7 separate regions of the Homo sapiens genome follow, and regions 1, 2, 3, 4, 6 and 7 are each linked to region 5. The links are contacts of gene promoters, found by promoter capture Hi-C in blood cells and fetal thymus (Javierre and others, 2016). All regions are on one chromosome and are shown on one strand. Each heading gives the region's core, a stretch centred on a gene start or on the middle of the fragment in contact. The rest is flanking DNA. Distances are from core to core; before and after follow the strand shown. Region 1 overlaps PIK3R4 (phosphoinositide-3-kinase regulatory subunit 4). Region 2 overlaps ASTE1 (asteroid structure-specific endonuclease 1). Region 3 overlaps ATP2C1 (ATPase secretory pathway Ca2+ transporting 1). Region 4 holds the start of MRPL3 (mitochondrial ribosomal protein L3). Region 5 holds the start of NPHP3-AS1 (NPHP3 antisense RNA 1). Region 6 overlaps RYK (receptor like tyrosine kinase). Region 7 overlaps RYK (receptor like tyrosine kinase).

Region 1 (3,843 bases), core at 712-3,211, 2.0 Mb before region 5:
ACTATTCTTGCAACTTCCTTTGATTCTACAATAATTTCAAACTAAAATGTATAAAAATGATTTTGAAAAATTAAGTGGGGGGAGGCATTCTTCAAAAAATGGCAATGTGATAATAACAAAAGAAAAAAAGGCTGTAGAAATATTAAAGGAGGCTAAAGAGATATGACAACTAAATGTAATACCTGAACCCTAAACAAGGTCCTGTCCTGAAACAGGCAAAATGCTATAAGAGACATTATTGGGTCAAATACAAAATTAGAATAAAAAGTGTAATTACTGTATCAATGTTAAAATTACTGCAGCCATTAACTATATTGTGTTTTGTAACAGACTATACCTCATCTTAGAAAACACTGAAGGCCGGGCACAGTGGCTCATACCTGTAATCCCAGCACTCAGGGAGGCCAAGGGGGCGCGGATCACTTGAGGCCAGAAGTTTAAGACCAGCCTGGCCAACATGGAGAAACCCTGTCTCTACTAAAAATACAAAAAAATTAGCCAGGCATGGTGGCACATGCCTGCAATCCCAGCTACTCAGGAGGCAGCAGCATGATACCCAGGAGGTGGAAGTTGCAATGAGCCAAGATCGCGCCACTGCACTCCAGCCTGGGTGACAGAGCAAGACTCTGTCTCAAAAAATAAAAATAAATAAAAAGTAAAAAATACACACTGAAATGTTTCAGGGTAAAGGGCCATAATATATGTAACTTATTTCATAAGGTTAGGGAAAAAATGGGGCGTGAGGAAGAAGAAAACGATACCAATGATACAGCAACCAGGGCAAAATGTTAACAATAGGTGAATCTGGGTAAAGTGTATATGGGTGTTCCTTTGTTCTATTTTTATTTTTGCAAGTTTAAAAGTCTGTAAGTTTTTAAGGCTTTCAAGTTTGAAATTACAGTATTTCCAAATAAAGTCAGAAAAAAACACAGTGACATATGACTATTTATAACTAAATGGAGGTTTTATTGACTGAATTGTGTGTCAAGTGCCCCCTGCCTCCCCTCCTGCAAGTTCATATGTTTAATCTCCATACCTTAGAATCTAAGTGTATTTGTAGGCAGAGCCTTTAAGGAGTTAATTAGGGTTAAAGAGGTAATAAGGGTGTGCCCTTAATCCAATATGACTGGCGTGCTTATAAGAAAGGACACCATGTATGCTCATTCACAGAGAAAAACCCATGAGGACACAGCCAGAAGATGGCTATCTGCAAGCCAAGGAAAGAGGTCTCAGAAGAAACCAACCCTGTTAGCTTGATCTTGGACTTCCAGCCCCCAGAACTGAGAGAAAATAAATCTTGTTTCAGCCACCATCTCTATGGTATTTTGTTATGGCATCCCTAACAAACTAATGCAGCAGTGAATTCATATTTATTTTCTCAAAACTTTTACGATTTTATTCTGAAAGATGTTATTGGGTGGTATTTCCCTGTGGAACAACTTGTTTAAATCGTCACTATCATCACTGAGTCTGTATCATTCAAATCTCAGCTCAAATGTTACCTTCATCAGAGAGGCCTTCCCTGACCATTTTATCTTAAAGTAGTGCCCTACCAGCCTTTTCAATATCATTCTGCTTGGCTATAACACATCACTAACCAAAATTAACTTTCTTATTTACTTGTTTATTCTATCTCTCTCCCCACTAGAATGAAAGCTCCATAATGGCAAAAGCTTAGTCAACTGTATTCCTGGCACCTACGTAACAATGGCTTGCACATAATATGCTCAAATGCATGTCAAAATGAATGAAAGATCTGCAGCACACAAGGCTATGCCTATGTACTGGACCAGAGGCAGAATATATATGGTAAGTCCTCAACGGTATCGATGGGTTCTTGGAAACTGCAACTTTAAGTACAACAACGTACAACAAAACCATTTATTTTCTCACCATTTCATTATAATGAAAACGACATTATTTGATGGACCTGCTTTACACTGTTTCACTTAAAGTAGCAGTTTCCAAGAGCCTATCAAGGACGTCAGGACTCGCTGAACACTTCTCCCAAACCAGCAGCCTGGAACCATGGATATCCATCAAGAGGGGAAAGTAGCACTCAAAACCCAAACATTCAAATCTTAAGAGCACTGGGAAGTGGACAGATGCCACCCACCTCTTTTTCAAAGGAACGGAAGGGCCTACCTTCAGCCAAAACAATGTAAGGCTCTTTGGTCTGGAAAAATAAATGCTGAGTGTGAATTTTGTTGAAGTTTACAAAACTATAATGCACAAAAAAAGGATAAAAATAAGCTTATCAACCACTGAAATTTTAAACCTATGAATGATCCCCTGAAGTTTGAAAGTGACGCAATTCCTAAGCTAAAGGATTACATAACAATTAGTGAGTTTAAAATGTAAAAATGGTTCAAGAAAATTTTAATACACTGATCAACAAAACTGGAACTTTGATGGATTACATTTCTAACCTTGTTATACTGTATTTACAACCTTGAGGCTAACCCTATCTTATCAAAACATCTCTCAGTATTATCTTGGGACACAGATTAGTGAGCTGAATAGACCAACATAGGTGCAATCCTGAATAACATTATTCATTCTGGTAGATGAAATACATTCATTCATCAATTAATTTTCCTAAATAATCTAAAATTTGGCTCAATTTATGTTTTTTGTAATAAACCTACAAGCAAGAAAAAAATTAAGCCAAACCATCACAAAATTTACCAAAAATGGCACCGATGCCAGATTTCTTTTGAAGTCTATCAGAGTACCACTCTCAACACACTTCTTCCTCTCTATCCCACAAATTCTTAAATAATCTGGAATCCATAGCTCAGCTTCATGTGGTCTGTGTATGTGAAATAATATATAGGAATGAATGCATGGTACATTTTTCTGGGGAAGGAGTCCACTGATTTCATTAAATTTTTTAAGGGTATCCAAAAAAGCTTCAGAATCACTTCTGTACAACCTTTCCCTGGCTACAATTACTACCTATTTCCTGATAACTCCCAAATCTCCATCTCTATCCCAGATTTCTATGCCCAAAAATTTATAACCAACTGCTGGGTTAGGTGTGGTAGTTCATGCCTGTAATCCCAATACTTTGGAAACTTGAGGTGGGATGACAGCTTGAGCTCAGGCGTTCAGGAACATTCTGGGCAACACAGTAAAATAGTCTCTACCAAAAATGTTAAAAAAAAAAAAAGTCAACTGGGTGTGGTGGTGCACGCCTGCAGTCCCGGCTACACAAAGAAAGCTGAGGCAAGAGGATCATTGGAGTTGGAGGCTGAAGTGAGCTACAATTGCACCACTGGGCACCAACCTAGGCAACAATGTGAGATCCTACCTCTAAAAAATAATAATAAATTAAAAATAAATAAAAATATAACCAAATACATGTTGTACATCTTCTCCTGCATACTTGGCAGAAATCTCAAACTTACCATATCTTAAACAGACCTCATCATCTTCCCAACCTAACCTGTTGCTCCTCCTGTGTCTCCCTGTCTCAGGGACCAGCATCACCATCCACTCAGTTTGGTGGGCGAGAGAAGTTCCTGTGACTTCACCTTCCAATGACAGAATCCTAACAATTCTATCTACTAATTATCTCTTAAGCATTACCACTTCTCTCCACTCCTTCCAACTCTGCCACAATCTTAAGCCGGTCACAATCATCTTACCTGGACTGTGGCAGTTTTCTCCTAACTTGTTTTCCTGTCTTCTGTGTAGCTCCCCTGCAAAATTCACTCTCCATGCTCCAGTCAGGCCAGACCCTTTCTGATCTGGCTGAGTTTGGGCCTTGCTTAATTCACACTGTGTTCCAGAAAACACATCAGTGCATCATATTCTGGTCTTTAAGCTTCTGTATAGGCA
Region 2 (3,767 bases), core at 1,199-3,698, 1.7 Mb before region 5:
AAAATAATAAAAAGGAGGCCCACCTTTTACCAACTAGCGAGGAGCAAGACACTGAGCCTGCCTGGGTACAGGGTCCACATTTCCTAAAAGAAAAGAAACAGACCCTTGACATGCCCCTTCTCTTGGACTCAGGTAAAAACTTAATAGGCTTGTGCTCTGAGAGCTTTCTTATACTGTATTTATTATTCAATCAGAGGAAATACTCTAAACCTGTGTTCATAAAGCAGCAGTGGGACTTAACTGATTTGTTTTGTGTTAAGTTGGCTGTCATATAACAACAGTCCCTCTGACAGCTGTCAAGCTTGAGCCTTAATACTTTAGAAACAGGAATCCATGCTGTTTCATTCTTTTATCTAACTTATTAAAATAGTAAACTAGAGTAGCACGATCTAATAGAACTTTCTGCAGTGCTGTCCAATACAGTAGGCTAGCCTATAGCCATATGTAACTACCTGACACTTGAAGTGTGGCTAGTGTGACTGAAAAGCTGAATTTTTAATTTAAATGGAATTTAACTTTGGCCATGTGTGGCTAGTAGCCACCATATTAGATAGTACTATTCCAGAGTATAATTATTATGCATGTTTATACAGTGTTAGAGCATTCATAATCTTTAAAGAGGATATTCCACTGAAGTATTAAAGTGTCCCAGTGTTTCAGCATTTACTTCACCTGGTATTATATGCAGATGAACTTGCCTCAGTGTATTTAAGAGATATTACTGGCCGGGCGCGGTGGCTCATGCTTGTAATCCCAGCACTTTGGGAGGCTGAGGCGGGTGGATCACAAGGTCAGGAGTTCAAGACCAGCCTGGCCAAGATGGTGAAAACCCGTCTCTACTAAAAATACAAAAATTAGCTGGGCGCGGTGACAGGCACCTGTAATCCCAGCTACTCGGAAGGCTGAGGCAGAAGAATCACTGGAACCCAGGTGGCAGAGGCTGCAGTGAGCCAAGATTGCACCACTGCACTCCAGCCTAGGCAACAGAGTGAGACTCCATCTCAAAAAAAAAAAAAAAAAAAAAAAAAAAGGACAAATTACTATTTCTGCCATCACTACTTACATACTAATTGAAACCTACAGCAGAGAAAAAGGAATAAAAAGATGTATAAGCAAGAATGTAGTGGTTGTAGGTATTTAGATAAGTTTCACTTCTGGGCAAGTTTCTTGTGATGACGTTGCTGCTGTGCTAATAACTGGATAGGTAACATGGAATACAAAATGCAGCTGGCAAAATACACTGTCACAATTCACAAGTTAAAGGAGTAGGTGCCACCAAACAGATGGAAGTTGGCAGTACCCCAACACATCTCACTGCTGTATACTTAAGATTCAAGCCCTCCAGCACTGAGCCTGGCACATGAAGTGTTAAAAAATATTTACCAATGAATGAATGATATTTTGGTGCCTCCACATCTAAGTTGTGATACAATTAATGGGAGTAAATAATCCAAGAATACTTTTTTGTTTGTGTAAACTCGAGTAAACAGTTTGCAAGCAACATGCCACAATATACTCCTGTAATTTCCAGTTACCTACCAGGGCTGTTGATTATGGCAATCAAGGGCCCCACTAGCATTGTGAGCAGTAAGGATTGTAGATGATGTAGCTTTGCTTTGGTCTCGGTGTGCTGCAACCAGTAGCAACTGACAGCAATGGGCAACTTCAGTGAAGTAGGGATTGGCTCCAGAATGGTCTGTTTCACCTTCAGGGTTTCTAACAGAAGCATCTGCCGCCTCCTCAAGGAGAGCTGAAAATACACACCAAGTATCCTGCAAGTTACTTTGGGAAATGTCTGTTATTTCTTTTTTCCACCATAGCATGAAGAGATTTAATGCTACTGAAACTTCTGTCAGCTGTTAAACTTATCTTCTTGTGGGAAAAAAAATCAGCCACACTCACAGCATTTAGAACATTAATAAGATGCTTTATAAATATGGTTGGTTGAATGGGTGTACTGCCTACTCCTACACCTTTACTTATGTCATTCCATCCTCTTTGTATACGCTGGTGAGCATCTTCAGTGCACGTCACCTGGGAAGCTCATTAAAAATTCAATCCTTAGGCCCTACTCCATAAATTTTGATTGACTAATCTGAGAGAGAGCCCAGGAGGAATATACATTTTAACTAGCAGCCCAAGTATTCTACTTTGAGAAACAAAGCTGTATACTCAACACCACCTGTATGTGCCTGTGCAACAGGCATTTGCCTTCAGCATGATGCCATTACTAATTGCCTCCAGAAGACAAACGTTGCTTTTAGGAACCCTATGTGGCATATACTCTATTTGTTTGGGTCCTGTCTCATGTCCCTTCCCTGTTGAATGCTTTATTGTCTTTGCATAAAAGACACACAGGGATTGTCCCAGGGTGGCTGCTTGTAGATTAGAGGTATATTCAAGGGAGATAGGAATATTTTAAGGACTACTTGCATTGTGCTTGGAGTAACACGCCATACTTTTACTTCATGGTTTAGCGTGTACTTCAAATAAAAGCTCAGAAGTAAAACAGCTATAAGAGCACTGAGGTTCTTGTTGAAATAATTTTACCTTAATGAATTACCAAGACCTTGTAAGAACCAGAATGGGGACCTTACAGGTCATGCACTCAGGAATATTAAAAGGTCATCTTCTGGGGGACTTTATAATCAAACTTTAAGAAAAAGAAAAGTTGTATTCCTAGTGTCTGCACACAGCCAGAAAAAGATTTTCTGCTTTCTGGAAAGTTGAGATGGTAATAACATTTCTCAGCATGTAACATCTAGTTAGTAGAAAGAGTGGTTGACAGCTGAGACTAAAGATATTAACCTGAAACAAAACACATCATAAATGACAAAATAGTTTTATCATTAATGCATGAAAACTTTAAATAGTACGATTATTTCTAAATACTGCTTTTAATAATATTGTGATACAAATTTTAAAATTAGAAATATGCAAAGAACTTTATAGTATAACCAATTACCCCTACTGGAAGTAGTTTTAACTACTTAAATTTTAAGTAAAGTGGAAACTAAACTCTTAAACTGGTTTTTAAAATGCACTAAGTAGAGCTAAGAAAATACACCAACTCTTTTCTGATATATATTTAAATTACTGAATTATAGAGCCAAGTTACAACTTTTCATAAACAAAGCAGTCTGGGCTTTGACTTCAGAGATGTTCCGCTCTGCACTAACCCTATGGCTTTGGTCGAAAGGTTTCTGACCTTTTCTACAGTCTGTCTGACTTATCTGTAAAATGGTCATTATAATGACTTGTATAAGATGTTTCATCAAACCCACCAGTCCACAGTCCCTTCCAAAAGGGGAAGTACTCAACTCACAGCCCTTAACGTTAGTTAGGTTTTATCCCATGTGACAACTACTTTCCCTCTTCCCCAGGGGGAGCGAAAGCACAAGCCTGCAGAAGCAGCTGCCCCGAGAGGCAGAGATGCCCAGAGAGAGACTGGTCTTGGCTGCCTTACTCCTTAAGAATGATCCACTTTTGTGTCTCCTTATGATTAACCTCCCATTGGTTAACTTGAATGGTGCTCTGTCCATTGCAACTAACATAACCAAAATGAAACCCTATCCCATGTGGTTATTGTGGGAATTAAATGAGAGACTATAAAGTTTTTATTAACAACAGCTGGCCAAAGCAGATAATGTATTACAAGATCTAAAAAACAAAATGAATAGGTACTATCACAAGGTTTCTATACTTGTACTTGCATTTGTGTTTGGAATCACATGAGCACCTGGTACATTTATAATTTTCAGGGGCTA
Region 3 (4,223 bases), core at 793-3,292, 1.8 Mb before region 5:
TCATTGTTAGTTGAGGGATAAGTGGAGTTAGGTAAGGAATTTTCTATGGCATTAGTGCTTTTAAGCCTACAGAAAAAGTTAGGGCTCTACCAAGAAGCCAGGGTCCAGTACAGAAAGAGACAGGTTTGGATTTGAAGCCCGACAAGTAATGTTTTCCTCTCCTGAAAAATCTGACAAGTTACTAGGCTTCTAAGCTTTCTCAGCCTCTAAGTTATCTCATCTGTAAATGAGATAATGCCCTCTTGCAAAGTTGATGTGAGTAATAAATGAAGCCGCCAGAGCAATGTTTGACATACAGTTAACTTGGATGAATTGAGTGATGCTGCTGTTCCCTAGTAAGAGTATCCTCCAGTAGGTATGCAGGTAGTTACATTTGTGGGTGTGAACAGTGTAGAATTGATAGTGTTTCCCTAGAGCATCAGCATGAAGGTTTCTTAGGTAGCTTACAGTGGTGTGGGGAGGAAATGGTTTCATCCATGTGTTGGTTCCTTCAGCAATGGTGGTATTTTCTTTGGCACTTCGGTTTAGATTCTTCTGGACTTTTTTCCTAGGGCCCATTTAAACTTTCTCAGCAAAGCTTGACCAATTTTTAGCTGTAGACTCCAGGATGTTTCATGAACACTTTCTGCTTGTCACTAGGAACGTTTAAAATGTTAATTTCCTGGAATTTTTGGACTACTTAACATTCAGTCGTGAGTTAGGATTTTATCCAGATCCTTTGGAATTTGTTTTTACATGTTTATCACAAATCTAAACAGATCCCGCTTAGGCATCTTGAGATGCACAAGTAAACAGCTCTTACCTGATTTTTAAAAGTTAATTGCATGTTTAAAGTGATAGCTTACTAGAAAAGATATGTCTAGCTGGAGAAGCTTGCACATAGGTTTTCCTTTCTAGTAATGGATTTATTTTTTGGAATAAATTTGGCCTTTCCCATAGAAAATTCAGTGTGACTTTAATACACATGAAACTTTAATATAGCCTTAAATGTTTGACTAGTGGATAGAAATGTAATAGTCTTCAGGATTTCAGGACATGGTTAATTTAAGATTATAGACAGAGCTAATAGGTGTAGAGAACAATGCCCCAATCTTTTTTGTTTGAAAATGGTTGTATTTACACTTTACTTTTAAAAGCAGTTTCTTAATTCAATTTCAAATTGTTAATCAGCTAGGAATGTCTCAAGAAAAAATTGCATTACTATAGTTGGAGAAGCTATAGGGAAAAAGGGATGAGAAGCCACCTTAATTTTATTCCTTTAACTGAAAATAGGAAACCAGGTTATAAAAATATATCTTTGGGTGTGGGAAATATAGTTTATGTTGTTTGCAGTTTTGTCCATAAAATGATAGTCTTAATTAGTACTCTGAAAAAGAGTTGAAACTAAAAGAGATTATATATATGACATTTTGTAAACTGTAGTAATTTAAGCCAGAGGATGCTGTAGAGAGTACTTGTATGCAATAACCTTCTGACAGTTGGATTCCAAATACTTGATTTGTCTTCATATTTTTGTCATTCATTTAAAGTCAGCAGAATTCAGGTCTGTTAACGCAAAGCATTATGAAACAAAATAGTTTCCTAGGGAACACACCCCTAGGGGCCCAGGACTGATTTTGGAGATCTTAGTTAGCCATGATCTGTTTTGCAAGGTTAAATTTTGTTTTAAAGGTGCCAGGAACACTGTGGCTTGATGGTAAAGTTAGCATGAATTTTAAATTACACCGTTGTTACATGTAGCATCTTAAAATATCTTAAGGATCAGTTCAAGAGGTCCCCTCACATTTACTTTGTTGAAACAAATTCTTTTTAATAATGGTTTCAGGCATCAGTTGTGACAAGGTTATCTTTATGCTTTTCATGTAGACAAATGTTGGTAAAAGGCAGTAAAGGGTGCATCCTGAGGTTAATGCCATCATTTCATGAAAGAAAGGATCTCTCAAAAAAAAGGCTAAATTGATAATTTCCTCTTGGATGTATATGACTGCTACTTATATGCATTTGTTAATACAGTTGACCCTTGAACAATGTGGGGGTTGGGGTGCTGACCCACCATGCAGTTGAAAATCTGCATGTAACTTTTAACTCTCTGAAAACTAAACTACTAATAGTCTCTACTGTTGCCTGGAAGCCTCACTGATAACATAAACAGTCAATTAACACATACTTTGTATGCTATATGTATTATATACTGTATTCTTGCAATAAAGTAGAGAAAAAAACTTACCAAGAAAATTATGAGGAGGAGAAAATATATTTATAATTCATTAAGCAGAAGTGGATCACTATAAAGGTCTTCATCCTCATTGTCTTCGCTTTGAGTAGGCTGAAGAAAAGGAGGGGTTGGTCTTGCTGTCTCGGGTGACAGAAGCAAATCTGAGTATAAGTAGACCTTTACAGTTGAAACTCATGTTGTTAAAGAGTCAACTGTGTATCTTCTGTCTTCAGGCTTTAAGTTGCTACGACAAAAGTATAAATCGTAGAATTACAAATAAATTACACCAATTGTGTTAAATTAGGTTGGTTTAGACTAAACCTGTGATGTGTTTAGAAAAAGTTTGAATGAAATGTTGAAAAGCTGTCCTAGATTATAGACAGAAGACAGTAATAGTCGGGGTCAGAAGCATTATCTTAAGATGGCCGTAACTGGGTGTCTGATTCAATTTCTATCTCTGCTTTTTTTAATTCTGCTATAGGTATTAGAGAATGTGTGAATTGGAATTATTTAATATACCTGTTAGTTGTAATTGCTTTCTTAAGTAAAGGCCTTTTGGTTTGACATTTGGTCATTTCGTAAACATGCTGACCTAAACTCGTGTCCCTCCCTCAGAAGGAAATACGTTAATTTAGTATGACATCCTTTTTTTTCCCTTTGTGCTTATTTATTTATTTATTTTTTTGAGATGGAGTCTCACTCTGTAACCCAGGCTGGGCTGGGACACAGTAGCATCATTATAGCTCACCAAAGCCCCTAACTCCTGGACTAATGCGATCTCCCTGCCTTAGCCTCCTGAGTAGCTGGGATTATAAGCACACATCACTATACCCAGCTAATTTCTTAATTTTTTTAAAGACGAGGTCTTGATATATTGCCCATGCTGGTCTTGAACTCCTGGACTCAAGCAGTCTTATTGCCTTGGCCTCCCAAATTGTTGGAATTATAGGCATGAGCCACCGTGCCCAGCTTTAGTATGACATTCTTTATTCTTTTAGAAAGCTTTGAGATATTGATGCATCCTTATAGAAATTACTTTCATTTATTTATTTACTTACTTAAAACAGCTTGATAAAGTTGGAAAAAGCAGGACCCTAAATAATAAATATATTTGCCATCAGCCTTTTATAGGAAAACTCAGAAATAATAAGTGGAAATATTTAGGATGTCACTCATCAGACTTTTTTTTTGAATATGTAAATGTGTTTTTTTGAAAATTTAAACACGCAAAGTAAAAATTAAAAGTTTTGGTTAAGTTGTGAATTTCAGAAATTTATCTTGGTTATGGTGTCCTGAAGTTAAAAAGAATAGAGCATTAGTACATTAGTACATAAACGTTCTGTTATTCTCTGCCTAAGGGCAAGATCCAACTTTGAACCAGGTCCTGGATTTCCTCTCATCTTAAATCGGAGCCTTTTTCATTTGTAGTATAAATAAATTAGCCTTTTGATGCTGTGATTTTATTTGTATATGTTATATATGAGATTTATATCTCTCTTTGTATGCAGGCATTTCACTAGATTTTGTTTGGCCATCTATTTTTAGTGTTTCCCTAGCAGCATGTTTGCTTTACCTGCCTTCATCTAGGTTTCTACATCATCAGGGGTGGAAATATTAGTTGGCTTAATTAAGCTTGGGAGTTGTACCTTACTTGCTCTGTTGAGTGTCAGTTCTACCTTCTTTTGAAGCAGGCAAAAGCAGTTCATGGCACAAATGCCAGAAATAGCATGCAAACCACTTTGTAGTGGTATGCAAACTAATTTCTGCTGTGTCCTTTTCTTAATGCTTGTGAGGGTTACTGTTTACTTAAGAGTTAATATTTGGCTTATGAAACTAGTATCAGATGAGAAATTCCAGCATCCCTCCCCACCCCAGAGAAAGATGTGGTCATTGGGGACTGCTCTGAAGTCTGCCAGCCCTCTATCCTAAAAGTTGGTAGATCAGTTATTATATCTTGATATGTACCCCTAATTCATATGAGGGGCCAAGAGAGATTAGTTACTCCTGA
Region 4 (3,925 bases), core at 1-2,500, 1.2 Mb before region 5:
AAAAGAAAAAATAAATAAAACCAAACCACAATTTAAAAACTTCCTCCACTTAATATAGAAAAGGGAAGTCACAAATTGGAAAGTGTAGTCAGGGCCTTGGGAAAGGGCTTGGATTCTGTATACCTTTTTTTCAGGTCTCCAACCTTTTCCTCACTCCCCACATTCCTTCGGATAAGGCTCACATTTAAACTGTTAGTCGTTACCCTGGAGAAAAAAATTCATCTTCTCCTCGCAGATAAACATATTCCCCAAAAAACAGTCCTACCTATAGACATGAAAAGCCACTAACCCATTTGGAAGTGTACCTTAATAGTTTTACATTCAGTGGAGGTGGCAGAAGGTGGCATGTTGATCTTTGTCTAACAAGCTCACCTCCTCCCTGCAATGACATGGCCTAGGTTCAGAGAAGTGAAGAAACTGGGTGTGCAAAGTTAAAAGATCCACAAAAGGCATGACCTCTGAACAGGTGAACATACCAAGAAAGACCTTAGTGGGCGGAGGTCAGGAAGAAGGGGTGTAATTCTTGCATGGAGGGTCAGAACAGAAGTAAAGCTTTCTGCAGTCTACTCTCCTTTTGTAGTCAGATAAATTCAGGCTAGATTCCTAATTTTCCACTTATTAGTTGAGTGACTTTGGGCAAATTAACTCACCTCCCTAACCTTCAGTTTTATCTGTAAACCTTATGATAGCAGTTTGCTCCCGTGAGGCTACATAAGGCACCTAATACACTTAGCAGAGCGCTTAGTACCTGGCAAACGCTCACTAATTGTAAGATATGATTGCTGTTAATAGCGTTCGCTGCTAGTGGCTGGCTCATAAGCGTTTTTTAAAAATCACCACTTCAATCCCCTTAGAACGTGCTTCCTTAGGTTAACGGCCCTTATTCTTCTGTGTCCCACGTCTCAACAGAGCCCCTTCCTCCTCCACCCAGGGGAGGCCCAACTGCACCAGGCCATTCCACTGCTTCAGGACGCAACTGTGCAGGTAGGACACCCTCACACCTTCCTACCTGTTCCCCGGGCCCAGGGCAGCACCCAGGCCGTCCCCGAGTCGACCCAGCACCTGGGCGCCGACCTGCGTCAGCAGCCTCCAACCCGGCATGGATTAGCCCGGGAAGACTCGACTCACGACTTCCGGGCGCCCTGCCGCTCTGCTTTCAGGGAGTCCCCACGCCACCGCCACGTGGACGCAGTAGCCGTGGGGAAGTTTTCGCAATGGCCGCCGGAACGGTCGCCGGCCGATGCTCTCTGCGACGGAAAGAAAGCCGCCGGACCCACTTCCGGTGCGTTTTACAATGAACTCCGGGCACTCGAGTCGCTCCCCGGAAACTATAGTTCTGCTTCCACCGTTGTCCTACTTTGGATGTGAGTTGGAGTAGGTAGGGGTGGGAAGGGACTGACTCGCCTCTCCAGGGGTAAAATAAAAGGGATGTTCAGAGTTTAAACTTTAGAAGAATAAGGACAGACTTCCTGAGGACGCTAAGGAAAATGAAGACACTTCTAAATAGTGCCCGTTGTGAGGCAATGCATTATGCTAAGCAGCGCTTCATAATCCTATATTTGTTAATCATAAAAAACGGTCCTGAAAGGAAGTATTTATTTTTCTATTATAAATGAGGAAACTGACTCAGAATTTAGGTGCTGGTCCAAAACAACACATCTGGCAGAGGAGCAGAGTTGGCACTGAAACAGGGTTGGCATGTGTTATCAATAGACTACACCCATAGAAATGATGTATGCCTTCTAGGGCTGGATCATAAAACATATTGTTACTTCAGTTTTTGTCTCTTGGATTGCTCCCTGTGGAGAAAGCTAGCCTTCATTTCCTGCAGACACTCAAACAGCTCTGCAGGGAGGAACATATAAAGAGGAATCAACTAGCCAGTCATGACTGAGCCACCTAGGAAGTGGATCCACCAGTCCTCGGCTGCAACTCATGGAGACGTTAAGCCTGAATCTCCCAGCCAGGCCGCTCATGAATTACTGACTAGGAGAAATTGCCAGAGAAAATAAATGATTACCGTTTTTTTGAGTCATTAAGCTTTAGGGTAATTTGTTATGCAATAATAGATAGCTAATACACCTGCACAAAAAATCCCCTGTCTTGGGTTCCAGATCTAGCCTAATAACCATGTATGTGACTAGGACATTTATTCTTCTACTAATTCCCTTATTTGTCAGATTACTGTTTGTAGAAATTTGGAAATAAGAACTTTAAAGTGTAGCTATTTCAACCTTCTCTTTTTACTAGAGATCTGGCTATCTTGGTTTAACAGGTCCAGACAATGGTCAATTCCTGGCCATTACTTGGACTTTAGTGGGCTAAAAAATCTTTGCTTTGCTTGTCCATTCATTCCACTCATTGCTGTTGCAGTTACCTTAGACACTTTTCAATAATACTTTGGACCTTGAAGGAAAAACTACATCTCTTCATTCTAGCCATGCTGCCTGGCTTCCCAGATACTTAAGGATGGCTCTTCATTGAACAAACATGTTTTGAGGTGTGCTACATGCAAGAAGTTGAGAATAAGAAGATTTCTGTACTACTGCCAATAACTAACATTTCTTATCCATATAGTGTGCTAGAGTATGTGCTCAGCATTGTGGAAGCCCATAAGCCAAGGCTACTAGAAGAAAACGTGAACTCATACAAAGTCAAGTTTAATTAGCTTGATGCAGCAAAAGACAGCATATGTCTGAGGATGTTTCCAAAAGAGTGACCTGGGAGGGGCTTGAAATGAAATTTGGACTTAAGGCTGAGTGATTTTAAAGTGGCATCAGAGAAGCAGGAACTTGTTTTAGAATGGGTGCTGTCAAGAAGAAAGGACAGTTCAGCAATTGGATATCTTGATAGTCTTTGTTCTAGAGACAGGAAGAACAGAGAGGAAGTGGGCATGATGTTCATAAGAAAGCAGGAATCACTCAGAATAAGGAACTGTTAGTCATTTTGCTGCAGTGGTGTGGCCTACAGTACGGTCTGTAAGAAATATTGTAATGATGGGCTGGGCGTGGTGGCTCAGCACTTTGGGATGCCAAGGCGGGTGGATCACGAGGTCAGGAGATTGAGACCATCCTGGCTGACATGGTGAAACCCCTTCTCTACTAAAAATACAAAAAAAAATTAGCCGGGCGTAGTGGCGGGTGCCTGTAGTCCCAGCTACTCAGGAGGCTGAGGCAGGAGAATGGTGTGAACCTGGGAGGCGCAGCTTGCAGTGAGCGAGATTGAGCCACTGCACTCCAGCCTGGGTGACAGAGCAAGACTCCGTCTCAAAAAAAAAAAAAAGAAATATTGTATTGATGTTCTGCTATAAACACTGCAGTCCAGTTACTAATAGTATTCATTTTTACTCTCTCAGTGTATTTTCTCACTTGATTGTTATGACAATCTGCTGTGACAATAGTATAATTATCTGGATCTTACAGTTAAGAAAATAGGCATACAGAGATTACATAACTTAAATAAAATCACCCAGCTATTAACTGGTAGAGCCAAAGACTGTGACCATAGATAGAGCTTATGCTTTTAGACATTTTGTTTCTTTGGCTCTCTATGACAAATATGTCACTACTCTTGCCTTGGAATTTCTTTAAGGCTAAAGAGGAAAATCGGTAAGTAATCACACGCAGTGGTCAGTGAGGATTGAAGAGGTAGCCATTTGGTCTAACCTTTTCCCATAGTACCAAATATCTCCTAGTCCATAAGGAGGACCTTGACAGCAGGCACCACCGCTGAACTGAATCAAAGTAAAACATGGTTTGTCTGCTGTCGTAAAAAATGTGTCTCCTGATTGCCAGCCAGGGCTGAGTGGTGTCATACTTGATTTAGTCACTGTAATATGCTGCTGACAGCTACTAGGCCCAGTTGTCAAGGGACCCAGCCTAGGCTTTTCTAGGGCAGTCAGGCACTGACCTAGAGCTTCCTGTTA
Region 5 (2,700 bases), core at 201-2,700:
TATGGATAAGTTTTTTCATGCCTCGATATGTGAGAAAGGAACCAGTATGTTTCACAGGGAATCAGGATTGGTGACATGAGTGACTGTGACACTTGCCAACCCTTATTGCACTCCGCCCTGTTTGGTTTGGCCTTTTCTACCCCCACCTCACAGTTGTTTCCAACGTGCGGTGTCTGTTGGGCAGTGGCTTGGATACATTGAATCAGATATTTGAAATGCACTAGTCCATTTTATACATGCAAGTGCATTAAGGTTGCCCAGTAGGAAAACTGATAAGACAACAGATAAACTGCTACACGGACTTCTTCCCAGACAACGACAATAATTACACAACAGCTAATGAGGGAGTTTAAAAACAAAAACAACAACAACAACAACAACAAAACCTGACTAGAAGAATGTCTAGTCTTGAAGACAGGAGGCTTTTTTTCTTTTAGAAAAATCAGTCTGAGGTATTTATTTCACCCCGACTGTAACGACTCCGGGAACTCTTAGGCTGCCTATAAGTCTCTCCCACAGTAAAGAGTACACAAACGACACAACAACGACCAGAGGGGCCCCAAACTGAGGGCAAAAAGTTTTAGAGATTCGTTCACAGAAAAGCAACCTCTTGCTTTATACTATTTTTTTTTTTTTGATACGGAGTCTCGCTCTGTCACCCAAGCTGGAGTGCAATGGTGCAATCTCGGCTCACTGCAACCTCCGCCTCCCGGGTTCAAGCAATTCTCTTGCCTCAGCCTCCTGAGTAGCTGGGATTACAGGCGCGTGCCACCATGCCCGGCTAATTTTTGTATTTTTAGTAGAGACGGGGTTTCACCATGTTGGCCAGGCTGATCTCGAACTCCTGACCTCAGGTGATCCGTCCGCCTAGGCCTCGAAAAGTGTTGGGATTACAGGCGTGAGCCACCACGCCCGGCTGCTTTACATACTATTTTATTGAATTATAATGGACCTGCTACATGGAGGGCATGCAATAATTGCTTTTAGCGTAAATTAATCAAATGGACTAGGGAAATTTGACTACATCTAGAGAAGGTTTTCAACCATGGTGAGATCAGGAGGCTTCCAGAAATTTTCATGTCAAGACCATTAAAATGCAAGAGCGATGAAACTTTACAAAGAAACCGACACTTGAGCCCCACTTTGGAGACCCACTTAAAATTTTTATGGTGGGGAGGGGGGTGAAACTCCTAGGAAGAGTTTGCTGAGTTGCTTCAACAGATGTCACCAGCCTTCTGAGGGGGTGGGCGCGGGGGCGGCAGTGGAGCTGGAGATTGGCATTTGCCTCCTCAGGACACTTTCCGGCTAATTTCTTCTAGGTGCCTCAATGAATAAACCAGAAATAGAAAAGCGGGGACCAGGCGCGGTGGCTCACTCCTGTAATCCCAGAACTTTAGGAGGCCGAGGCGGGAGGATCATTGAGCCCAGGAGTTCCAGGTTGCAGTGAGCCGCGATCGTGCCACCGCAGCGAGACCCTGTCTCCAAAAAAAGAGACAGAAAAAGGGGAGGGTTAAGGAATCATTTCAGACTCGAAGAGAATATGGCCTCTCAAATTAAAATGGGCAGTTTCCGCCGAACTTTCAAAGCCGCTTGGTTTGGAGAGGGAGCAGGACGGCCGTGCTTCCCAAGGGTCTCCCGGCGTCGCGGCCCAGCCCGGCGTTACCTGCAGTTCGGCCCGCAGCCGCTTGTTCTCCGTGTCCAGCTTGGCCTCGCGGCGGCCCATGGACAACAACTCCTGGTTCTTGCTGACGCGAAAGATCTCGTACTCCTTCCTGAGCCGCTCGTACTCGGCCGCCGCGTACTCCAGCTCTGGCACCGACGAGCCAGTGGACTTGAAGCTGGCCCCCAGCAGCCCGCCCGCGCCCACCCCGCGGGGCAGCGACCCGGGCCCGGCCCCTGCTGCCGCCCCCGCGCCTCGGCGGAACGAGTTGCGCAGCAGGCGGGCCTTGGGCTTCACCTCCACCGGGATCTCGCAGGCCTCGCCGCCGCCCGCCCCGTACGTGTCCTCGATCACTTCCCCGCCCGCGGGGCTCACGAGCGACGAGGCGGTCCCCATGGCGTCCGTTGCCGCTACTACCTAGTGAGTACCAGCAGGACTGGGCAGCGGAACGGAACGGGACGGGGTGGGGCAGAGGAACGGAACGGGACGGGGCGGGGCAGAGGAACGGAACGGGACGGGGCGGGCCAGCGGGATGGAGCGGGGCCGGAGAGCAGGACTGGGCGGAGCAGCGGGACGGGGCGGAGCAGCGGAACGGGGCGAGGCGGGGGAGCGGGATGGGGCGGGGAAACAGGAGGGGCGGGGCAGCAGAACTGGGCGGGGCGGGGGTGCAGGACGGGGCGGGGGAGCAGGACGGGGCGGGGCAGCGGAACGGGGCGGGGCGGGGCCGGAGAGCCGGACGAGGCGAGGCAGCGGAACGGGGCGGGGAGGGAGAGCGGAAGGGGGTGGGGCAACTGGAGGGGCGGGGCAGCGGAACGGGACGGGGCAGCGGAACTGGGGGGATGGGCGAGGGGGACGGGGCGGGGCAGCAGGGCTAGGCGGGACAACAAGAGGGGCCGGGCAAGTGGGGCGGGGCATGTGGGCGGGGCAGGGCAAACGGGGGTGGGTCGAGAAAGCACACAGGGCCAGGCGGGCTAGCAAGAAGGGCGGGGCTAGCAGGAAGGATGGGGGGAGTGGCGACTGTGCAGGACCAGCAGTGGACC
Region 6 (4,099 bases), core at 268-2,767, 1.5 Mb after region 5:
CATGGATTCAAATAAATACCAACTCCACCAAAACGCCTAGGGTTAAGGATTTGCTGCAGAGTGCTAACCTCCCAAAAACCCACCCAGGATCTGGGCCCTCTGGCAGGTTATGCCAGACTCATGGGCAGAGGACACCTTCAACCCTCCACCCCTCCTCCCCACCAAGCATGGGCTCTGAGATTTAGGAGAGAGGGGTGCTGGGAGGAGAGGAATACATGGTTCATCTCCTTTTTCTTTCCCTTGACCAACCACTTCTCCCAAAAGGAAAGGGTCCTTTGGTTCAGTTGCCCAAATCTGAAACCCTAGATTCCTCTGTGACTCCTCCCCTTTCTTTAGCCCTAAAGTCTCTTCTACTAAGTCTTCTCCAAACTCACCAAATTCCTCACAAATCCATCCCACCCCTTCAACTGCCTTAGTTGATCCCTCTTATCATCACAAGGTTGGCTCTATCTCATTTCCCAGATCCAGCATTTCATTCTCCAAAGCCATCCTTTTCACTGGGGCCAAAGTTATCTTCCCTATAACCCAGACCTGACTGCGCACTCTCCTAGTCTGCATTCTTTAGCAGCTCACTGAAGAATTCACCTGTAAGAGTTCAAATTCCTACTCTAACCTCAGCCTACCTTCCAGCTTTATCCTGTGGCGCTCCATGGCTTTGCTAATTTTTCACCTCAGCCACATTAGATTTTTCCTACCCCACAATTTCACACAGCTGCTTCCACCCTCTATGTCTTTGTTCACACTACTTTCTCAGCCTGGTATGAACTGCTCTTTTCTGCCTATCAAATTCATCCTTCAAGATGAGGCTCAAATGTCTTTTTTTTCCCTGGGACAAGTTTCCTAAACTCTCTAAGCCTGTCTCCCCTCCGCCCTTTCCACAGTCAAAAGTAAGTGCTCCTACAATAACTTATGTCAACCAGCAATATAACTCTTATCTCTGTTACAGTCATAAATGCAAGTCTCCCCTACAAAATTCTGAGATCTTCAGGGAAAGGAGTGTAATAATTTTGAATTGTCATTTTCTACCACAATATATGGTACTTGGTTTAGCTTCAAAAAAATTTTCTGGACTGATTTGGGACACAGTGATTTCAACTAGTATTGACTTGATTTTAAATAAAATGTGAACATTCTTGACTTTTCCAGAAGATATTTATTTTAAGAGGAGAAGCAAGTTATCCAAAGTTAATTTCTAACTGGTGGGAGATGGGGCCTCTTCCCAAAAGTCCCCCTGACCCCTATCACCACCACCACTGTTGGCATAACCAGTTTATACCATTCCCCACCCACCCACCAGCATGTTCTTCCCAAGCTTCTGGCACTGCCCAGCCATATGCCACCTTCACAGGCTCCGGAATTCCACAGAGCTCAGTACAATGAAAATTATCAATTAAAGAACATGGGAGGATGCAAGAATAATTAGCATAATAATAAAGACCACAAACAAGCACCTGTGGCAGGAGGCTTGCGGTTCTACTCTTTGAGTTTTTGGTTAATTGCACTCCTCCAGAGCTGATAAAGAGACAGTATGAATTCAGGTCTCAGGCAGGACTGAGTCAAGACCTGGCCTTCTACTCACTGTCCAAAAGGCCCTGAATCAGGGTCCTCATCAGTAAAATGCAGAAATGAATGCCTACATTGCAGCCTGTTATGCAAGTAACAGGCTTGTAAATGCAAGCGATGAACCAGGGCCCAGGAACACAGGAAGGCCAACCAGAGTTTAAAAGCTTCTGAAGCTTTCGGTGTTTCAGAACTTATACACTTCCATCAGGACCGTGTGCCCTACTACTACCAAAAAACCAGGCTAGTCATTAATACATACCTACTCTAAGATTATTGTTTTCTCATTTCTCTGTGTCACCCCAAAATTTCTATGTTGAAATCCTAACCACTAAGGGATGGTATTAGCAGGTAGGGCCCTTTGGGAGGTGATTAGCTCATAAGAGCAGTCCTCATGAATGGGATTAGAGCCCTTATAAAAAGACCCAGGGGAGCTCGTTTGCCCCTTCCACCATGTGAGAACACAGGGAGAAAGCAGTATCCATAAACCAGGAAGAGGGCTCTCAGCAGATATCAAATCTACCAAAGCCTTGATCCTGGACTTCCCAGCCTCCAAAACTGTGAGAAATAAATCTCTGTTGTTTACAATCCACCCAATTTATGGTACTTTGTTACAGCAGCCTGAGCAGACTAACACTCATCTATAAAATGGAAATGACAGTACATAACACAGGGATGACCTCTATGCCCCACACAGACAAAAGACAGCACTTTTAAAAGTGTCAACTACTACTACAACCACCATTAACTACTCGTAATATTGTTCATATAAAAAGACTGCCACACGTCATCTTCAATAGTTAAACCCAAACCCTAACTGCCATTTACACATTGTGGAATGACCATAATCCCTTACCTCCATTTCCTTCCAAAATTCCTCTAAAATGATAGTTTAAAAAAAAAAAATCACAAAGACATCAAACCATAAGGACAAACAGAAAAGGAAAGACAACATGCTTTTTTAAACAAACTTTTGCAAGATGGCAAAGTACTTGAAGGAATGGTCACTGCCCCTCAGGACCTCCAAGAGGCTCAGGTCTTGAGGCACCAAGGAGATGCCAAAGGCTGATGTGAGGCTTAGCCTAGACAAGGGGGGAGCCACCGAAAGAGGTGTTCAAAGCTTTTGGATCCCCAGTTCCAGCAGGAAACCCAAAGTTTTTTCTGAAGAAACTGAATCACAGTGACAGGAGAACTGTAGCCAGAAGTCGAAGGCTACAGCCTCCATCCCTCCCTCAGCCAGGTAACCCAAACCCTGGCAGCTGGCATATCACCAAGCATACCAGAGGCAGGAGATGATGATTTCTTCATTGTGAACACTGGCCCCAAACGAGATGTAAAGGTGTTGATATTCGGGGCAGACTCCCAATGAAAAGTCCACCTGAACTCACAAGTCACTAGACCACCAATACACACATGTTCTCTCCTCTGCAATCAGCTCCTCAGGATCTTTTTCTTCATTATAGACAGTCAAGGATCACCAGATATTTATGACTTAAACAAACAAAGAAAAGATCCCTGAAATGAATAACCACACTGGAGGAAACAGAAGAAATATTAAAAATATATTAAACACAAAGAAAAAATAAAAATACACACATCAGAGATAAGTAAAGATAATACATCCATAAAATAAGATGCAATGAAATGGAAACAGAAAAAGATTCTAAAATTTAAAAACATGATCATTAAAATTGAGAACCATTCCCCCCCTCCCACTCCTTCCAGTACAAAGAAATACGTAAGACATGAGATTAGTTAAGAAAATTTAAAGATCATTTGTAGTGGGTTCAACAACCAAACCAACAGACATCTCAGAAAGAAATACACACACACACACACACACACACACACACACACACACACAGAGAGAGAGAAAATAAAGGGTGGGAATTATTAAAAAAAAAAAAAGCATTTCTGAAAACTAAAAAGAGTCTCTAGATTGAAAGGACCCACTAAGGTAATACAAGAAAGAAAAGGAAGAAAGGAAGGAAAGAACCAACCAACCAACCACACAAAAACTTATAAAACTTCAGAATGCCAGAGAAAAAGAACCTGAGCTTCAAAAAAACAGAAAAAAAGAGGCATCAGAATGGCTTTGGACTTTTCATCAAAAACCCTTAAGACAGAAAACTGTGAATATGCCATCAAAATTATGAAAAAATGTATTTCTACTTAATATTTTAAATTCAGCCAAACCATCTATAAAGTATGAGGACAGGATAGATACATTCAGACATTCAAGGCCTCAAGTAATTTATCTCCCATCATTCCTTCCTAAGAAGCTACTGAGGATACATACATAGTAGCAAAATGAAGCAAACCAAGAAAAAGGAAGACAGGAGATCTAAAAAACAGAGGTTCCAAGACAGGAAAGAAGTAACAGGAAGTCCCAGAAAAAATAATCGTACTATCTAGATTGGAGCAAGAGGATGGAATGCTCCAGACCAAGAAGTCTCTAAGAGGAAACCAAGTGGCACTGATAGATGATTTAATGTGCTACCTGGAAAAAAAAAAAATCAAAAGGCATTTAACATACTTC
Region 7 (3,768 bases), core at 57-2,556, 1.5 Mb after region 5:
AGGCTGGAGTGCAGTGGCGTGATATCGGCTCGCTGCAACCTCCACCTCCTGGGTTCAAGCGATTCTCCTGCCTCAGCCTCCCGAGTAGCTGGTGGGACTACAGGCACACGCCACTATGCCCAGCTAATTTTTGTATTTTTAGTAGAGACGAGATTTCACCATGTTGGCCAGGATGGTCTCGAACTCCTGGCCCCAAGTGATCCACCTGTCTTGGCCTCCCACATTGCTGAGATTACAGGTGTGAGCCACCGCGCCCGGCCGAAGCTCACAGCTTCTACTCATAATGGCTACTTCTCATGCCATCAACACCAATAAGCCACACAGGACTTGCAGAGGCCTTGGTCTCCTGCCATGTTCTCCCTGGCTTCAATATTCAGTATTCAATATCCTGACACGCTAAAGAATTACTTCACTACCAAAACAAATGCAAAAATGCCATTCTATCAAAGATCCCATCACCACCTCTGATTCCTACAAAACTAGTTCTCTGATTCCATCACTCCAAGTCAGCCAACATTTATGAGGCACATTTATGAGCCAGGTGCTGTGTTCATAGCAGGATGCAGCAGCCAGTTAAAGCCACTTCCCTTCTCTCCAGTATAGCCGTGAACACCTAGTTTCATGTTCTCCACAGCCCAAGCCCTAAAGAAGGCAACATTACTGACAGTCATATTGGCACCTTCAGCTGGTTGACTCCTTCCAAACCCTCAAAGGGCAGCTCTAGCATCCTGACCACCCCTTCTTACTCTACTCCTGCTGCTCAGCACTGCTGAAGGAAATCCATCCTACAGAAAAGGAGCTCTTACACAACAATGACCTCCAGTCTCAGGGGAGGCCCTTAGTTCTACTCAGCAATCCCTTCCTCACTGACCCTCTTTTCCCTCGTCTTATTCCAACCTTACAGGCCTTCCCCACCTCCTCACACTCAATGTTTTTGTCCCTTTCCACTAGTACAGAGGAACCCCATTTCTGCCTTTCTTTTCAACACCCCGGCAGATCTATTAGAGCATCTATTCTTTTCATTCTAGTCCCAAGGAAAGGTCCATTTTCCTCTCCAAATGTAAATCCTTCAATCCTAGTACACTAGGGTTCTAGCCCATTTCACCACTGATGGGATATCTTAATCGTCAATTTCTCTCACTCTCTTTTACCTTCAATCCCTCTCAAGTGTCCAATTACCTACTAGGCAATTCTATCTAATTATCCTACAGCCTTCCAACTTAACAAATTCAAAGCCACACTTACTATTTCCCCAGAAACTTGCTGTCTCCTTTATTCTAGGTCTCAGTTATCACAAGGAGAGAAGGAGCAGACCAGAGACCAGAACCCCAAAGTAAGCAGAGAGGGCCTGGCAAAGGGGTCCAGGGCCATAACTGCAGTTAAAAAAGCAGCTAAGACTGGCGCCTGAGCATCTCAGTGTGGCAAGGTGAAAAGGAGGAGAGAAGGGAAGGAAATGAGGCTGTGAGTGTAGCTGGCCAATGAGGGCACAGGGAGAGGTGCAAAGGGCTGAGGAGGAGATTTGAGAAGGCAGCCCCTTTGGTCCTATCAGCAGCTTAGAGGAATATGAAGCATGAAACTGTGGAAGCCTCCTTGCTGGCTCCTTTTTTGAGGAACTGTCTAAAAATGGGAGGCATTCACAAGGTAGTTCTCTTTTCCCTCTGCAGTCTTTAAGATATAAATTTTAAAACTGCAGTTTCTGGGATTAGAGAAGAAATTGCCAATTATTGAAGTCCAATTTTCTCTAGTTTGGCATGTATCGATCTGTAAGGACTCTCACTTGCCAATCATCCTTTAAAGAAACAGATCTGCTCAAAAGTTAAATGTACAGTCTACTGGGACAAAGAAATTTGAACAGCAGTTGTTTATCAGAATGTAGAGTGAGCCAAAATACTTCAGAAAAGAAACTACAGGCTAGGCGTGGTGGCTCACACCTGTAATCCCAGCATTCTGGGAGGTCAATGCAGGTGGATCACTTGAGGCCAGGAGTTCAAGACCAGCCTGGCCAACACGGTAAAACCCCGTCTCTACTAAAAATACAAAAATTAGGTGGGCATGGTGGTGGGCACATGCTACTCGGCTACTCGGAGGCTAAGGCAGGAGAATCACTTGAACCTGGGGGGCGGAGGATGTAGTGAGCCAAGATCGCACCACTGCACGCCAGTGTGGGTGACAGAGTGAGACTCAGTCTCAAAAAAAAAAAGAAAAAGAAAAAGAAAATAAAAGGAAAGGAAAAAAAAAGAAACAAATTACCAAAAATATCAACATTTGAATAAACTGAAAAATAAACATTTTTGCTTATGTTCCCTTACTTGGAAACAAATGGCAATTACAAATAGGAAGCTGGTAAGTAAAGCCATTTCCTTCTGGAACACAGAGAGTACAGATTTAAAGTGAATACACTTGTCTACAGCCAAATAGCCTTTTAATTTCTCTGAACTTACTAGAAGTAATGCCTTTCTCATAGAAACCTCACTCTGCAAAGGACACAGCTGCTGGCCTCCAGCAGTGCCTGCTGGAACTCTGGACAAGTTCCCTGCAACTCCTAGAAAATGATGACGAATTCCTGAAAGCACAGAACAGCCATGGGGTAAGGGTGGGTAGTGGGAATATTCTGCTACATTCTGGCAAATTTTCGCTTTTCAGATATCTAAAATAGCTACTGACGGCCAGGCGCGGTGGCTCATGCCTGTAATGCCAGCACTTTGGGAGGCTGAGGCGGGTGGATCACGATGTGAGGAAATTGAGACCATCCTGGCTAACACAGTGAAACCCTGTCTCTACTAAAAATACAAAAAACTTAGCTGGGCATGGTAGCGGGCGCCTGTTGACCCAGCTATTCAGGAGGCTGAGGCAGGAGAATGGTGTGAACCCAGGAGGTGGAGGTTGCAGTGAGCAGAGAAAGCGCCACTGCACTCCAGCCTGGGCGACAGAGTGAGACTCTGTCTCAAAAAAAAAAAAAAAAAAAAAAAAAAAAAGCTACTGACACTTAACAGACACAGTTACATGTTTCTCCTGGATATTGGGGAATGTTCTGGAATACAGAAGAAACTATCTGTTAAAGCCTCTCAGTAGCCTGCTTTTAAGTGTGTGGTCTTGTGAAAAAGAAGCAATACCAGAGTTCTACTCCCAACTCAAAATGCAATTAACACAATGGTCTTTCCTGACCACTCACTAAGGCATGTGTGACCTATGCGCTAAGAGTAAGACAGCTTCAAGCCTCTGAAGAGACCACAATCTGTGTGGCAAGACAAAATGGCGAAAACACTGAGAAACAGTATTACCAGAAGCTGTGATATGTGAAACTAATGTTAAAGTATCTACGATGTTGAACCGACACATATCAGGGAGCCTGCAGATCTCTGGAAGCAAATATTTCATCTTCTGGCAAACCTTAAAAAGCAAGAACCGAGGGTTTCTGATAAAGTATTAGAGCTTGAGAGCCACGGCCCTCCTTCTGAAAGTTCATGATTACACCTCAGGGTTAAATGATCAGGTGACAAACCCTTCATCAAGCCTCCCCTGCCCTCACGTGTGACTTTCCCATTTCAGGTCATCTCTACCTTCTGCTTCCTCTAACCCTACTTCTCCTACCTTAAGCAAATCCCTTTCCAAATCTGGGTCTTAATTTCCTCACAGGAACTGATCAATAACCAAAGTACAACTATATAATAATAAGTAATACAGCCATTTGAAGGGGGAAAAAGTACAACTCTGTATCAAGTGACAGAGATCCTTGACCAGGATATTGTTCAGTGCTCTGCAAACTGC

The links. The method cuts DNA at HindIII sites, captures the fragments that hold promoters and counts their contacts. A CHiCAGO score of 5 or more calls a contact.
Region 1: a fragment that was not itself captured here is called in contact with the fragment with the promoter of NPHP3-AS1 in region 5 in 1 of 17 cell types (naive CD8 T cells); the score reaches 5.4 in naive CD8 T cells.
Region 2: a contact is called between a fragment that was not itself captured here and the fragment with the promoter of NPHP3-AS1 in region 5, in 1 of 17 cell types (activated CD4 T cells). The highest score is 6.8, in activated CD4 T cells.
Region 3: a fragment that was not itself captured here is called in contact with the fragment with the promoter of NPHP3-AS1 in region 5 in 1 of 17 cell types (neutrophils); the score reaches 5.8 in neutrophils.
Region 4: the fragment with the promoter of MRPL3 here is called in contact with the fragment with the promoter of NPHP3-AS1 in region 5 in 4 of 17 cell types (naive CD4 T cells, activated CD4 T cells, naive CD8 T cells and 1 more); the score reaches 8.7 in naive CD4 T cells.
Region 6: a fragment that was not itself captured here is called in contact with the fragment with the promoter of NPHP3-AS1 in region 5 in 1 of 17 cell types (naive B cells); the score reaches 5.2 in naive B cells.
Region 7: a fragment that was not itself captured here is called in contact with the fragment with the promoter of NPHP3-AS1 in region 5 in 4 of 17 cell types (naive B cells, total B cells, activated CD4 T cells and 1 more); the score reaches 7.6 in naive B cells.

Annotation. Positions count from the first base shown.
Region 1 is chr3:130,740,097-130,743,939 of GRCh38, forward strand. The region is part of intron 2 of PIK3R4 (phosphoinositide-3-kinase regulatory subunit 4); the gene reads right to left. Among named protein-coding and RNA genes, the nearest start is that of PIK3R4, 4.8 kb to the right of the region's middle. The HindIII fragment of the contact is 580 bases long and covers 1,672-2,251 here.
Region 2 is chr3:131,016,967-131,020,733 of GRCh38, forward strand. ASTE1 (asteroid structure-specific endonuclease 1) reads right to left here. Exons shown (of 6, transcript NM_014065.4): 4 at 1,540-1,750. Among named protein-coding and RNA genes, the nearest start is that of ASTE1, 8.0 kb to the right of the region's middle. RefSeq lists a silencer at 3,265-3,374. The HindIII fragment of the contact is 4,299 bases long and covers 300-3,767 here.
Region 3 is chr3:130,897,176-130,901,398 of GRCh38, forward strand. All of the region lies in intron 2 of ATP2C1 (ATPase secretory pathway Ca2+ transporting 1), which reads left to right. Among named protein-coding and RNA genes, the nearest start is that of ATP2C1, 5.2 kb to the left of the region's middle. RefSeq lists an enhancer at 4,010-4,059. The HindIII fragment of the contact is 2,345 bases long and covers 871-3,215 here.
Region 4 is chr3:131,501,721-131,505,645 of GRCh38, forward strand. It overlaps MRPL3 (mitochondrial ribosomal protein L3), which reads right to left and starts at 1,251. Exons shown (of 10, transcript NM_007208.4): 1 at 1,010-1,251. The coding sequence starts at 1,101. It overlaps LOC105374114 (a long non-coding RNA gene), which reads left to right and starts at 879. Exons shown (of 3, transcript NR_189111.1): 1 at 879-984. RefSeq lists enhancers at 887-1,573, 1,080-1,149. The HindIII fragment of the contact is 1,488 bases long and covers 551-2,038 here.
Region 5 is chr3:132,720,300-132,722,999 of GRCh38, forward strand. NPHP3-AS1 (NPHP3 antisense RNA 1) reads left to right here and starts at 1,451. Exons shown (of 11, transcript NR_002811.2): 1 at 1,451-2,080. NPHP3 (nephrocystin 3) reads right to left here and starts at 2,110. Exons shown (of 27, transcript NM_153240.5): 1 at 1,664-2,110. The coding sequence starts at 2,056. NPHP3-ACAD11 (NPHP3-ACAD11 readthrough (NMD candidate)) reads right to left here and starts at 2,160. Exons shown (of 45, transcript NR_037804.1): 1 at 1,664-2,160. RefSeq lists silencers at 1,767-2,016, 2,117-2,626. The HindIII fragment of the contact is 4,122 bases long and covers 1-2,700 here.
Region 6 is chr3:134,242,921-134,247,019 of GRCh38, forward strand. All of the region lies in intron 1 of RYK (receptor like tyrosine kinase), which reads right to left. Among named protein-coding and RNA genes, the nearest start is that of RYK, 5.9 kb to the right of the region's middle. The HindIII fragment of the contact is 415 bases long and covers 1,311-1,725 here.
Region 7 is chr3:134,213,847-134,217,614 of GRCh38, forward strand. The region is part of intron 2 of RYK (receptor like tyrosine kinase); the gene reads right to left. Among named protein-coding and RNA genes, the nearest start is that of RYK, 35 kb to the right of the region's middle. The HindIII fragment of the contact is 5,038 bases long and covers 1-3,768 here.